Regions from separate parts of the Homo sapiens genome. Here region 1 is linked to region 2. The links are contacts of gene promoters, found by promoter capture Hi-C in blood cells and fetal thymus (Javierre and others, 2016). All regions are on one chromosome and are shown on one strand. Each heading gives the region's core, a stretch centred on a gene start or on the middle of the fragment in contact. The rest is flanking DNA. Distances are from core to core; before and after follow the strand shown.

What was found. The method cuts DNA at HindIII sites, captures the fragments that hold promoters and counts their contacts. A CHiCAGO score of 5 or more calls a contact.
Region 1: a contact is called between a fragment that was not itself captured here and the fragment with the promoter of GNAT1 in region 2, in 1 of 17 cell types (endothelial precursors). The highest score is 5.7, in endothelial precursors.

What each region holds. Positions count from the first base shown.
Region 1 is chr3:50,098,613-50,104,515 of GRCh38, forward strand. It overlaps RBM5 (RNA binding motif protein 5), which reads left to right. Exons shown (of 25, transcript NM_005778.4): 5 at 1,370-1,439; 6 at 1,920-1,993; 7 at 4,471-4,554; 8 at 5,636-5,696. It overlaps RBM5-AS1 (RBM5 antisense RNA 1), which reads right to left and starts at 2,376. Exons shown (of 1, transcript NR_045388.1): 1 at 991-2,376. RefSeq lists a silencer at 1,831-2,031. The HindIII fragment of the contact is 773 bases long and covers 1,335-2,107 here.
Region 2 is chr3:50,187,657-50,193,829 of GRCh38, forward strand. It overlaps GNAT1 (G protein subunit alpha transducin 1), which reads left to right and starts at 3,954. Exons shown (of 9, transcript NM_144499.3): 1 at 3,954-4,175; 2 at 5,477-5,519; 3 at 5,609-5,750; 4 at 5,850-6,007; 5 at 6,097-6,173. The coding sequence starts at 4,070. It overlaps SEMA3F (semaphorin 3F), which reads left to right. Exons shown (of 19, transcript NM_004186.5): 19 at 49-1,419. The coding sequence ends at 459. RefSeq lists an enhancer at 5,710-6,173. The HindIII fragment of the contact is 1,620 bases long and covers 2,869-4,488 here.

The sequences.
Region 1 (5,903 bases), core at 471-2,970, 91 kb before region 2:
TTTGTATTTTTAGTAGAGACGGGATTTCACTGTGTTAGCCAGGATGGTCTCCATCTCTTGACCTCGTGATCCACCTGCCTTGGCCCCCCAAAGTGCTGGAATTACAGGCGTGAGCCACTATGCGAGGCCTAATTTTTAAAATTTTTGTATACAGATGGGGTCTTACTGTGTTCCCCAGGCTGGTCTCACACTCCTGTGCTCAAGCGCTCATCTTGCCTCATCTTCCCAAAGCGCTAGGATTATAGGCTTGAGCCACTGTACTATCCTGCAGAACAAAGGACAGGGAGATTAGACTAAAGGATGGAGGCTTGAGACATCATACCACAAGCAAGGATGTGTATCATAACAGAAATTAATTGCGGCCAGGCATTGTGGCTCACTCCTGTAATCCTAGCACTTTGGGAGGCCAAGGTGGCCGGATCGCTTGAGCCCAGGAGTTCCAGACCAGCCTGGGCAACGTGGCAAAACTCTGTCTCTACAAAAAATACAAAAATTAACCAGGTGTGGTGGTGTGCATTTGTAGTCCCAGCTACTTAGGAGGCTGAGGTGGGAGGATCACTTGAGTCCAGGAAGGCAGAGGTTGCAGTGAGCTGAGATCACACCAGTGCACTTCAGCCTGGGTGTCAGAGCTAGGCCCTGTCTCAAAAAAAAAAAAGGAAAAATTAATTACACCTGAGGGAAATTCCCATGCAACATTTAATGAATGCCTTCAGTGCTGTTATAATGCATTAATTTCTATGAGAAATGTTCTCTCTTTTTTGTGCCTTTTAGGAAAATTGCATTTTGGTGATAGAAGATAAAAACTTGGCTAATTAGGCCAGGCATGGTGGGTCATGCATGTAATGATATGGGAGGCTGGCATATCACTTGAGGCCAGGAGTTCGAGACTAGCCTGTCCAACACAGTGAAACCCCGTCTCTACTAAAAATACAAAAATTAGCTGGATGTGGTGGTGGATGCCTGTAATCCCAGCTACCTGGGAGGCTGAGGCAGAAGAATCGCTTGAATCCAGGAGGTGGAGGTTGAAGTGAGCCGAGATCACGTCACTGTACTCCAGCCTGGGTGACAGAGCGAGACTCCGTCTCAAAAAAAAAAAAAAATCAGTCACGCATGGTGGTGCACACCTATAATCCCAGCTACTCGGGAGGCTGAGGCAGGAGAATTGCTTGAACCCAGGAGGTGGTGGTTGCAGTGAGCTGAGATCATGCCACTGCACTCCAGCCTGGGCAATCAAGTGAGTGAGAGACAGAGACTCCCATCTTAAAAAAAAAAAAAACTTGGCTAATTAAACAGTTGATGTAATTCCTATTCCATGGGGAATAGTGTGTGGCAAAAGCTTTAACTGTAAATAATGTAAAACCCTGTGCAGATTCGAGAAATGATGGAGTCCTTCGAAGGCCCTCAGCCTGCGGATGTGAGGCTGATGAAGAGGAAAACAGGTGAGAGCTTGCTTAGTTCCTGATATTATTGTTCTCTTCCCCATTCCCACCTCAGTCCCTAAAGAACATCCTGATTCCCCCAGTCTTCAAGCACATGAATTCAGAATGAAAGGTTTGCCATGGCTAAGGAATGTGACTCTTTGAAAACCATGTTAGCATCTGAGGAACTTTTTTAAACTTTGTTTTAGGGACTTTTTTTTCCTTAGGTAAGTAATGATTTATAAACTCCTTTTTTTTTTTGACTATAGTCGGTTGCATGGTTACTTTAAGCGTGGAATCAAATGGAGTGGCATTTAGTTCAGGCGGCTTGTTCCTTGCCATGGCAAAGTATCAAGAAGATCCCCAAGTCAAGTCACATTTGTAAAGCTGCTTCCCAATTGGCTTTGTCACGCAGTGTTGAAGCAGTGGGAGAGAGATTCACCTGTTATAAAGGAACTGACTAACACAAGTATCCCGTCTATATCTGAATGCTGTCTCTAGGTGTAAGCCGTGGTTTCGCCTTCGTGGAGTTTTATCACTTGCAAGATGCTACCAGCTGGATGGAAGCCAATCAGGTTGCTTCACTCACCAAGTCTAGATATTCATGAAAATGGAACAAGTCTGTACAATTTTAAAAAAAGGTTGAAGGAGTGGTTTGTTCCAAAGGAGTGACTTTTTTTTAAAAAAAAAGCTTTGTATATATTAAAATTGATGTTACTAGAATAAGTACAGTACCAAGGACTTCATTATAGAATTTGTTCTGCCTTTAAACATGGCTACCTACCTGGCAGGGCTTTGTTAACTACTGAATACCTGTCTGGTAATCACTAAAACATCTTAATGTTTCCCTTTTTTCTAGTTTGTTATATTCCTATTATGTCCATTGAGAGTAAGCTTAGTATATCAAACTCTCCATTTGACAGTGAAGAGAACATAGTGAAAGTCTGTGGCGGCATTTTTATAAGTAATTCCTTATTTCTGCCTGAAGACCACAAAGCCTCCTGGAGGCGTAACTGCTCAGACCGGTCTTCAGGGAATATTTAAGGACTTAGTGGAATTTATGAACAATAAGTCTGATGAGATTAGCCTGGGAGTGGTGTCCTGCAGCTGTCTAATCTAGTTAGAGTGGCATTAACATTCTAATCTCCTTGAGAATGCCTTTTATAGTCTGTTCAAAGCAAGTCATTGATGGTTCTTCGAGGTAGTGTTAACTGAAGTGTTCTTCAGTTTGTCAAGATAATGTTCAGTGCTTGGCACTTAAATAACATTTTTTGCAAGAACTCCAAGGCACATTATTGAATGCCTTTAACCAAGTGCATTCTGGGAAGTTTGCTTGACTCATTATCTTGCTTTTCTGCAGCATTCTGTGATTTGAGTCATCCATGAATCCATGAATAAAAGTTACATTCTTTGATTGGTAATATTGCCATTTATAACAAGACTCACTAATGAGGGTATCACTTTGACTGACTGATTTGTTAAAGTTTTTAAGCCTCTCATTTTCCTAACCCAGAAATCACAGCCTGATTTTATTAAAAGTAGAGCTTCATTCATTTCATACCATAGATACCATCCTAGTAAATCCAGAACATATACAAGGTTCATGTGAGTCTGCTTTCTTGACATGATAGCATTGTTTGATGCAGTGGATATGTCAGAATGACTAACCTAGGAGTTTAAAACTCCTAAGAAACTAAAACCTGTAAGACATTTAAAAGTCTCCACAATTTTAATGTATACAAAGCTATGTTACTGTGTAACACATTACAGTTCAAATTCACTCCAGAAATAAAAGGCCAGTAGGATTAGGGACTCACTGGTAGTTTGGAGTCTCCCAGCACACATCCCTCCTAGTGGGATGATCTATTCACATATCTCCCAGCTTTTTTATTTTTGCTTCTGTATATCACAGTGAGTGGATGGCCCTTCAGCTTTTTCTCTCCTGGCCAGACATGCAGTCTTGCCTTTAGATATCGCAGAGACAAAATTCACAGCATGTCTTAAATCTTCCAGGATTTGCAAGAACCAAATTGCTCAACAGTATGTATGTTTAGAGGGGTTAGACTCCTTTTTAAAATCTGGATATCTAACCACCTACTTAAATCTGTTTGATAGTGTCAAACCACCCCCACCCTTGATCCTCCCACCCCCAAGAAAAAGAAAAGATGCTCCTGTTAAATGAAGGCTCTTTAGGGGTAGGTGCTAGGTATACTCTTGGCTAGATTGATTCAGCTCAGAATTTTGACTTTTTAAAGCTAAGTCCTTGTAGTCACATGGTTGACTTGAAGGATGAGGTGGTGTGTGCATTTATGAGCTTTTCCTACCCCCCTGAAGAAACTTCATTGGCCTCCTGGTTACTCACCTTGAAGAGAGTACCATCCATTTTAGTGAAAAACACATCTGTCACCTAGGACATGACATGGTTGCAGTTGACAGGAAAAAAAAAATCTCATTTAGTTGTTTTAGAGTTGGTGGCATTCAGAATAGTCCCTCTTGAGAAAGAATTGTAACCAGATTCCCTTTAAAAATGAGTTCCCCTCCCTTTCCCCCCAAAGGACTCATCCTGAAGCAGAAGGTGTGGGGGGAAGGAGAAATGTAAAGGCTTTTACTTTGCATAAGGATGGGGGACTGGGGAAAAAGGTGAAGCGAAGCCCAAGGACACCATGCTAAGGGCAAAAGTAAGAGACAGTCTCAGAACTGAGAGAATTGTGTCTTCTGCTTTTTGAAGTAGACTGTCACACTCAGGCAGCCTGTCAATGCTGAATGTTAGGACTTCTGTCTCCGCTGGAGACACGGCCTGGTGCAAGTCAGCGTTTAGTGTTTGACAGCTTTCTCAGCACTCCCTGACTCCGTTTACCTTTACTCCGCATCCCATTCTCTTACTGCCTATCTGAAGGATTGGATGGGCAGAGTATAGGTGGCGGTGGTTGGTCCTCCCCGTATGTTGTCCATTTAATTCCAGAGCACTGATTTTTCCGAAGTGTGCTCTGCCCTGGGAAAATGGACACATGTTCCTCACAATGGGAATAACTAATTACTTCTTTTCTTACAGAAAAAGTTGGTGATTCAAGGAAAGCACATTGCAATGCATTATAGCAATCCCAGACCTAAGTTTGAAGATTGGCTTTGTAACAAGGTAAGCATATGTTCTTCCCAAATAGACAAAACTCCTTTAGGATATTGCTGTTTTTTTCTGTTTGTTTATTTGACTGTCCAAACAAGGAAATTGTTACTCAATCATCAGTAATATTCATGGTTTGTTACTTTCCTTGGGTCCTCCTACACTGGTATTAGATGATAGAACTAGAGGTTTCGTTTATTAAGATGCACGTTCTGCTGGGCATGGTGGCTCACGCCTGTAATCCCAGCACTTTGGGAGGCCAAGGCGGGTAGATAGCTTGAGGCCAGGGGTTAGAGACCAGCCTGGCCAACATGGCAAAACCCCGTCTCTACTAAAAATACAAAAATTAGCTGGGCATCACGGTGCGCGCCTGTAATCCCAGCTACTCGGAGGTTGAGGCAGGAAAATCTCTTGAACACGGGAGGCAGAGGTTGCAATGAGCCAAGATCGCGCCACTGCACTCTAGCCTGGGTGACAGAGTGAGACTCTGTCTCAAAAAACAAAAAAGGACAACAAAAAGGATGCAGGTTCTAAGCCCAGTGATTAAGATTTTAGGTGTGTTTCATGTTACTGTTTATTGAATTCTAGAGCTCTCAGTTTTTGGCGTAGTCTCTTAACTGTATTAACCAAAATAGTTGAGAACCCTGCTAAAGTTATATAAGGTTTACCATTTTGAACTTGAATGTTGACATTGATATTTTGAGAGTGCTCAAACTGTGTCCCCTGTCCAGTAGGGGACTAGACAGTGGTTAGTTTACCTTGTGTTTGTGTATGTAGGATGGGATGTATAGTGCTCTGTTGATACAAGGAAGAGCTTCACCAGTGGCTTGCTGTAGAGTTTTCAAATTAACTGAACCCTTTCCTCGGCTTGATAATAATGGGATTCTTCTTCAACATACAACAAACTTTGTTTTTCTTGGGAGATTTTAACAGTGTTACATTCTGAATTTTTTAGGTTATGTCCCCATGTCTCAGCTACGTGAGACTTTCTGCTTTTCTGTTAGTTACTGGGACCTACCCGTGGCCCCACTGTTATTGTTACTAGAAAGCCTGGCCTAATGTGAGAAATAATTACAGATAAAACTTTTTTTTTCAGTGCTGCCTTAACAATTTCAGGAAAAGACTAAAATGCTTCCGATGTGGAGCAGACAAGTTTGGTAAGACTGGATTCAGCTGTTTGCAATATGCATTAAAACCTACTAACTGGGGCAGGGAGCAGTGGCTCACTGTAATCCCACCACTTTGCAAGGCCAAGGTGGGAAGATCACTTGAGGACAGGAGTTCAATACCAGCCTGGCAAGAGATAGCAAGACCCTGCCTGTACAAAAAAAGAAATTTTAAATTATCTGGGTGTGGTGGCACAC
Region 2 (6,173 bases), core at 2,704-5,203:
CATAGGGTGGTCACAGAGCCTCTGAACCCCCTCTCCTTGCCCCTGCAGATTCGTGCAGAGGACCGCTTCCTGCGCACAGAGCAGGGCTTGTTGCTCCGTGCACTGCAGCTCAGCGATCGTGGCCTCTACTCCTGCACAGCCACTGAGAACAACTTTAAGCACGTCGTCACACGAGTGCAGCTGCATGTACTGGGCCGGGACGCCGTCCATGCTGCCCTCTTCCCACCACTGTCCATGAGCGCCCCGCCACCCCCAGGCGCAGGCCCCCCAACGCCTCCTTACCAGGAGTTAGCCCAGCTGCTGGCCCAGCCAGAAGTGGGCCTCATCCACCAGTACTGCCAGGGTTACTGGCGCCATGTGCCCCCCAGCCCCAGGGAGGCTCCAGGGGCACCCCGGTCTCCTGAGCCCCAGGACCAGAAAAAGCCCCGGAACCGCCGGCACCACCCTCCGGACACATGAGGCCAGCTGCCTGTGCCTGCCATGGGCCAGCCTAGCCCTTGTCCCTTTTAATATAAAAGATATATATATATATATATATATATAAAATATCTATATTCTATACACACCCTGCCCCTGCAAAGACAGTATTTATTGGTGGGTTGAATATAGCCTGCCTCAGTGGCAGCATCCTCCAAAACTTAGACCCATGCTGGTCAGAGACGGCAGAAAACAGAGCCTGCCTAACCAGGCCCAGCCAGTTGGTGGGGCCAGGCCAGGACCACACAGTCCCCAGACTCAGCTGGAAGTCTACCTGCTGGACAGCCTCCGCCAAGATCTACAGGACAAAGGGAGGGAGCAAGCCCTACTCGGATGGGGCACGGACTGTCCACCTTTTCTGATGTGTGTTGTCAGCCTGTGCTGTGGCATAGACATGGATGCGAGGACCACTTTGGAGACTGGGGTGGCCTCAAGAGCACACAGAGAAGGGAAGAAGGGGCCATCACAGGATGCCAGCCCCTGCCTGGGTTGGGGGCACTCAGCCACGACCAGCCCCTTCCTGGGTATTTATTCTCTATTTATTGGGGATAGGAGAAGAGGCATCCTGCCTGGGTGGGACAGCCTCTTCAGCCCCTTCTCCCCTCCCCGCCTGGCCAGGGCAGGGCCACCCCACTCTACCTCCTTAGCTTTCCCTGTGCCACTTTGACTCAGAGGCTGGGAGCATAGCAGAGGGGCCAGGCCCAGGCAGAGCTGACGGGAGGCCCCAGCTCTGAGGGGAGGGGGTCCGTGGTAGAGGCCTGGGGCCGGTAGAGGCTCCCCAGGGCTCCCTTATGTCCACCACTTCAGGGGATGGGTGTGGATGTAATTAGCTCTGGGGGGCAGTTGGGTAGATGGGTGGGGGCTCCTGGTGGCCTTCTGCTGCCCAGGCCACAGCCGCCTTTGGGTTCCATCTTGCTAATAAACACTGGCTCTGGGACTAGACTTTGGCTTCTCTCCTTGGTCAGGGGATTTAGAGCCACACGTGGTGGGCCTGGGGAGCCAGGTGGGGGGCTGGGAAGGGAGTAGATTGGCTCCATTTAAAGAAACCCAACATGTAGAAACCACATTTAGTTTGACAAACCTGGGCTGCTGCACCACCCCAAACACTTGGGTAGTGCGAAGGGCTGTAGAGACCCCTCAGGGCCCACTCACTCCTCAGGGTCAGGGAGGGTGGGTGGAGCCTGAAGGCTGAAAGTGGCAGAAATGCAACGGCCTCACTCCTGGACAGATCCCCATCATCCAACAGGGTGGGTGTAGAAGCTGCCAGCCTGTGGTAGGAGCCAGCATTCACTTCCCACGCATACTATTTAGAGACAGCCGTTAGTGCTCAGTGTCTGGTGCCCCGGCACCCCCTTGTGGTCTCTTGAGTCTGTGGCAGAGTTGAGTGCTGAAAGGCAGCCAGGTTCCAGGGAAGAGTCCAGCCAGGAGGCTCAGGGTGCCTGGAGGAGCCTTTGAGAGCCCAAGATTTGGGTTTTCCTATGGAAGTTGAGGGTGGGAAGTCTCTAGAACCTGGGAGCTCAACCTGAACAATTTCTGCCCGGCAGTGAGCCCTGCACCTGAACAGAGCACCAGACCCCCTAAGCTGAGGCAGGCAGGCCCTGGAGATAATCTTAGGCAGGCCTCAGAGCACCCACAGCAGACAGAGCAGGAGCAGGATAGGTGAGCCCCATTCCTCCATACCCCAGGGAACACTACACCTGCTCTGGGATGCAATTTCTCCACCTGGCAACAGGCCTGCAAAACATTCTCTGGAAGAGCCTGGCCACTTCTGCAGATTAGAGACTTTGTTGCACCCAAATTCAAGTGTACATATAGGCACAGGCGCCTGCAAGCATGCATGCACACACACAGTCATACACAGGCAGAGATGGACATGCACAGGCACACATATGCTCAGGTACAAACAGGCATGTTTACACCCCTGCGTATAAGCAAGTGCACACATGCAAACCTACACAAACTGCAAAACACACAAGCCTATGTGTGCATGAAGAGAATACACAAAGCATATTCACACATGCATACACATGTGTATACATGTGCACACATACATAAGCATGCGCACAGGCACGTGATTCCTATAAGAGCACATGCACTCACAAAGGCATAAACATGCAGGCACACATGTACACACAGGTATTCATGCACAAATGTGTCAAGTTATTGCTCGCTTGGTGCCAGCAAAAGACACACCCATGGCCGGGCGAGGTGGCTCACACCTGAATCCCAGCACTTTGGGAGGCCGAGGTGGGTGGATCACAAGGTCAGGAGATCGAGACCATCCTGACCAACATGGTGAAACCCCGTCTCTACTAAAAATACACAAAAAATTAGCTGGGTATGGTGGCACATGCCCGTAATCCCAGCTACTTGGGAGGCTGAGGTGGGAGAAGCTTAAACCAGGGAGTTGAAGGTTGCAGTGAGCCAAGATCGTGTCACAGCACTCAAGCCTGGCAACAGAGTGAAACTCTGTCTCAAAAAAAAAAAAAAAAAAAAAAAAAAAAGGCCAGGCACGGTGGCTCATGCCTGTAATCCCAGCACTTTGGGAGGCCGAGGCGGGCAGATCACGAGGTCAGGAGACTGAGACCATCCTGGCTAACACGGTGAAACCCTGTCTTTACTAAAATACAAAAAAAGTAGCCCGACGTAGTGGCGGGCACCTGTTGTCCCAGCTACTCAGGAGGCTGAGGCAGGAGAATGGCGTGAACCTGGGAGGTGGAGCTTGCAGTGAGCTGAGATTGCGCCACTGCACTCCAGCCTGAGCAACAGAGCGAGACTCCATCTCAGAAAAAAAAAAAAAAAAGACACATACACCGAGGCACACAGAGCAGATATGCATGCCCACCACAGTCCGCTGGAAGCAGAGGACCTCCTTGGGGCAGCTCCAGCCTGTGATATGGGATGAATGCAATGCCCACTGTTTCCCTCTCTCTGGATTCCCTGCAGGTCATAAAATCCCAGTCCAGAGTCACCAGCCCTTCTTAACCACTTCCTACTGTGTGACCCTTTCAGCCTTTACTTCCTCATCAGTAAAATGAGGCTGATGATATGGGCATCCATACTCCAGGGCCAGTGTGAGCTTACAACAAGATAAGGAGTGGTGCTGAGCCTGGTGCCGGGCAGGCAGCAGGCATGTTTCTCCCAATTATGCCCTCTCACTGCCAGCCCCACCTCCATTGTCCTCACCCCCAGGGCTCAAGGTTCTGCCTTCCCCTTTCTCAGCCCTGACCCTACTGAACATGTCTCCCCACTCCCAGGCAGTGCCAGGGCCTCTCCTGGAGGGTTGCGGGGACAGAAGGACAGCCGGAGTGCAGAGTCAGCGGTTGAGGGATTGGGGCTATGCCAGCCCGATTAGAAGGGTTGGGGGGGCTGAGCTGGATTCACCTGTCCTTGTCTCTGATTGGCTCTTGGACACCCCTAGCCCCCAAATCCCACTAAGCAGCCCCACCAGGGATTGCACAGGTCCGTAGAGAGCCAGTTGATTGCAGGTCCTCCTGGGGCCAGAAGGGTGCCTGGGAGGCCAGGTTCTGGGGATCCCCTCCATCCAGAAGAACCACCTGCTCACTCTGTCCCTTCGCCTGCTGCTGGGACCATGGGGGCTGGGGCCAGTGCTGAGGAGAAGCACTCCAGGGAGCTGGAAAAGAAGCTGAAAGAGGACGCTGAGAAGGATGCTCGAACCGTGAAGCTGCTGCTTCTGGGTAGGGGTGTGGGCCCAGGTGGGGCCACTGCCACCAGGTCATTGGTCTGGAGGCAGGCAGGCAGCCCTTCTGTGAAGCAAGGATTCCCTGGGAAGCAGTATGAGCCTGTGACAGAGTAGGGCACAGGGTGGGAGCCCTGGCCAAGCAAGGCCAGGCCTGACAGGTGGTGTCCTAGTCCCCCAGGGCTGGACATCCCACAAAGCCCCTCTCCAGACGGCTCTGCCTCAGGTGACCCACCCTCCCCAGAAGTGCGTGCCAACCACACTCTTGCACGGGTGTGTGATGCCGACTTTTCCGTGGCTGGGTTCCCGCAAGCTTCATGCAGCCTTTGGTTTGATACGCCTGCTAGGCAATGCTCAGAAGCCAGGAGCCTCACTGGGAGCCCGTTATTGGGCTGCTACTTTGGGAAGGGGATGGCCATAGTCCTCCTGGGAGTGGGGAGCCTCTAGGACCACCCAGATCCACAACGAATGGCCCTCAGGTGCCAGAGGGCTGTGGCTGATAGACCTACAAAGCAGCCAGAGGGGCTGGCGGGTACTGAGGCCCAGTGGGAGTAGATAAAGCCGCGTCCACTGGACCATGGGCACTGAGGAGAGATGGGGCTGATCCAGGCCTGCCTCAAGGTCACTGCCTGACCTCTCAAGGGGAAAAAGCAGCTTCAAGAGGGGCTCCACCCAAGCTCCCCAGGGTCTGGTCAACCAGCTGGAGGTGGGTGAGGGACCAAGCCAGTCCCACTTTCCCCCAAGGCAGAGAGGCTAAGCCGGAAATCTCATTAACTGTGCCCAACGCCCTCGCAGGGGCAAGCTCAGAAAGGATGTCAACTCTGCCCTCCCTCCTACCCAAAAGAGCTAATTCCCTCTGAGCCTCCTGGAGACACCTGCACCCCTTCAGGTGAAATGCAAGGGGTTTACCCGCCTCAAATAACCCAGTGCTTGCGGTACCAGAGGCTCCCACGAGGTGGCGATGACGCTCCGGGATTTCTTCATTGCAGTCTCACAGCATAATAAAGGCTGCCTGTGCCGGGGTCTTGGGGACTCCCCTGTCCCAGAACAGTTGAGGTCGTTGAGTCCCCTCGTTGGCTTCCTTTCTTCACTTTCCTGGCATTTGCAAACCTTGTGACTTCAGGATGTCAGGACTTAATTTGGATGGGGGGGTAGGTGTGGCTACGGGGTCGGGGCTGGCGCTCAGGCCTCTTCGCTGCGGGTCCACCCTGCCAACTCGGGAGGTCCCCGTCCTCCTGGCCTCCTTGCTGGAGGGGGCAGGCTGGTCAGCGCAGCTCTGAGGCGCCGCGTCTCTTTCAGGTGCCGGTGAGTCCGGGAAGAGCACCATCGTCAAGCAGATGAAGTGAGTGCCCCTGCCTGTCCCGAGGCCCCTGGGTCTGGGTCCTTCCCCACTTCCCCACGAGGCGCTGATTCTGCTCTCCTCGGCCTCAGGATTATCCACCAGGACGGGTACTCGCTGGAAGAGTGCCTCGAGTTTATCGCCATCATCTACGGCAACACGTTGCAGTCCATCCTGGCCATCGTACGCGCCATGACCACACTCAACATCCAGTACGGAGACTCTGCACGCCAGGTGTGCCAGGAGGCGGGCTGAGCGGGCCTCTGGGGACTCGAGGCTCGCGGCTGGGCCCGAGTCCCTGGCCGCCACCAGCCACTCTCACCCTGCCCCCAGGACGACGCCCGGAAGCTGATGCACATGGCAGACACTATCGAGGAGGGCACGATGCCCAAGGAGATGTCGGACATCATCCAGCGGCTGTGGAAGGACTCCGGTATCCAGGCCTGTTTTGAGCGCGCCTCGGAGTACCAGCTCAACGACTCGGCGGGCTAGTGAGCGCGCGGGCAGCGCGGGGCGCGGGGCGCGGGGCGCAGGGGGCCCTCCACGCCTCCCCACCCACCTACGGCCGGGTCTCGCGCAGCTACCTCTCCGACCTGGAGCGCCTGGTAACCCCGGGCTACGTGCCCACCGAGCAGGACGTGCTGCGCTCGCGAGTCA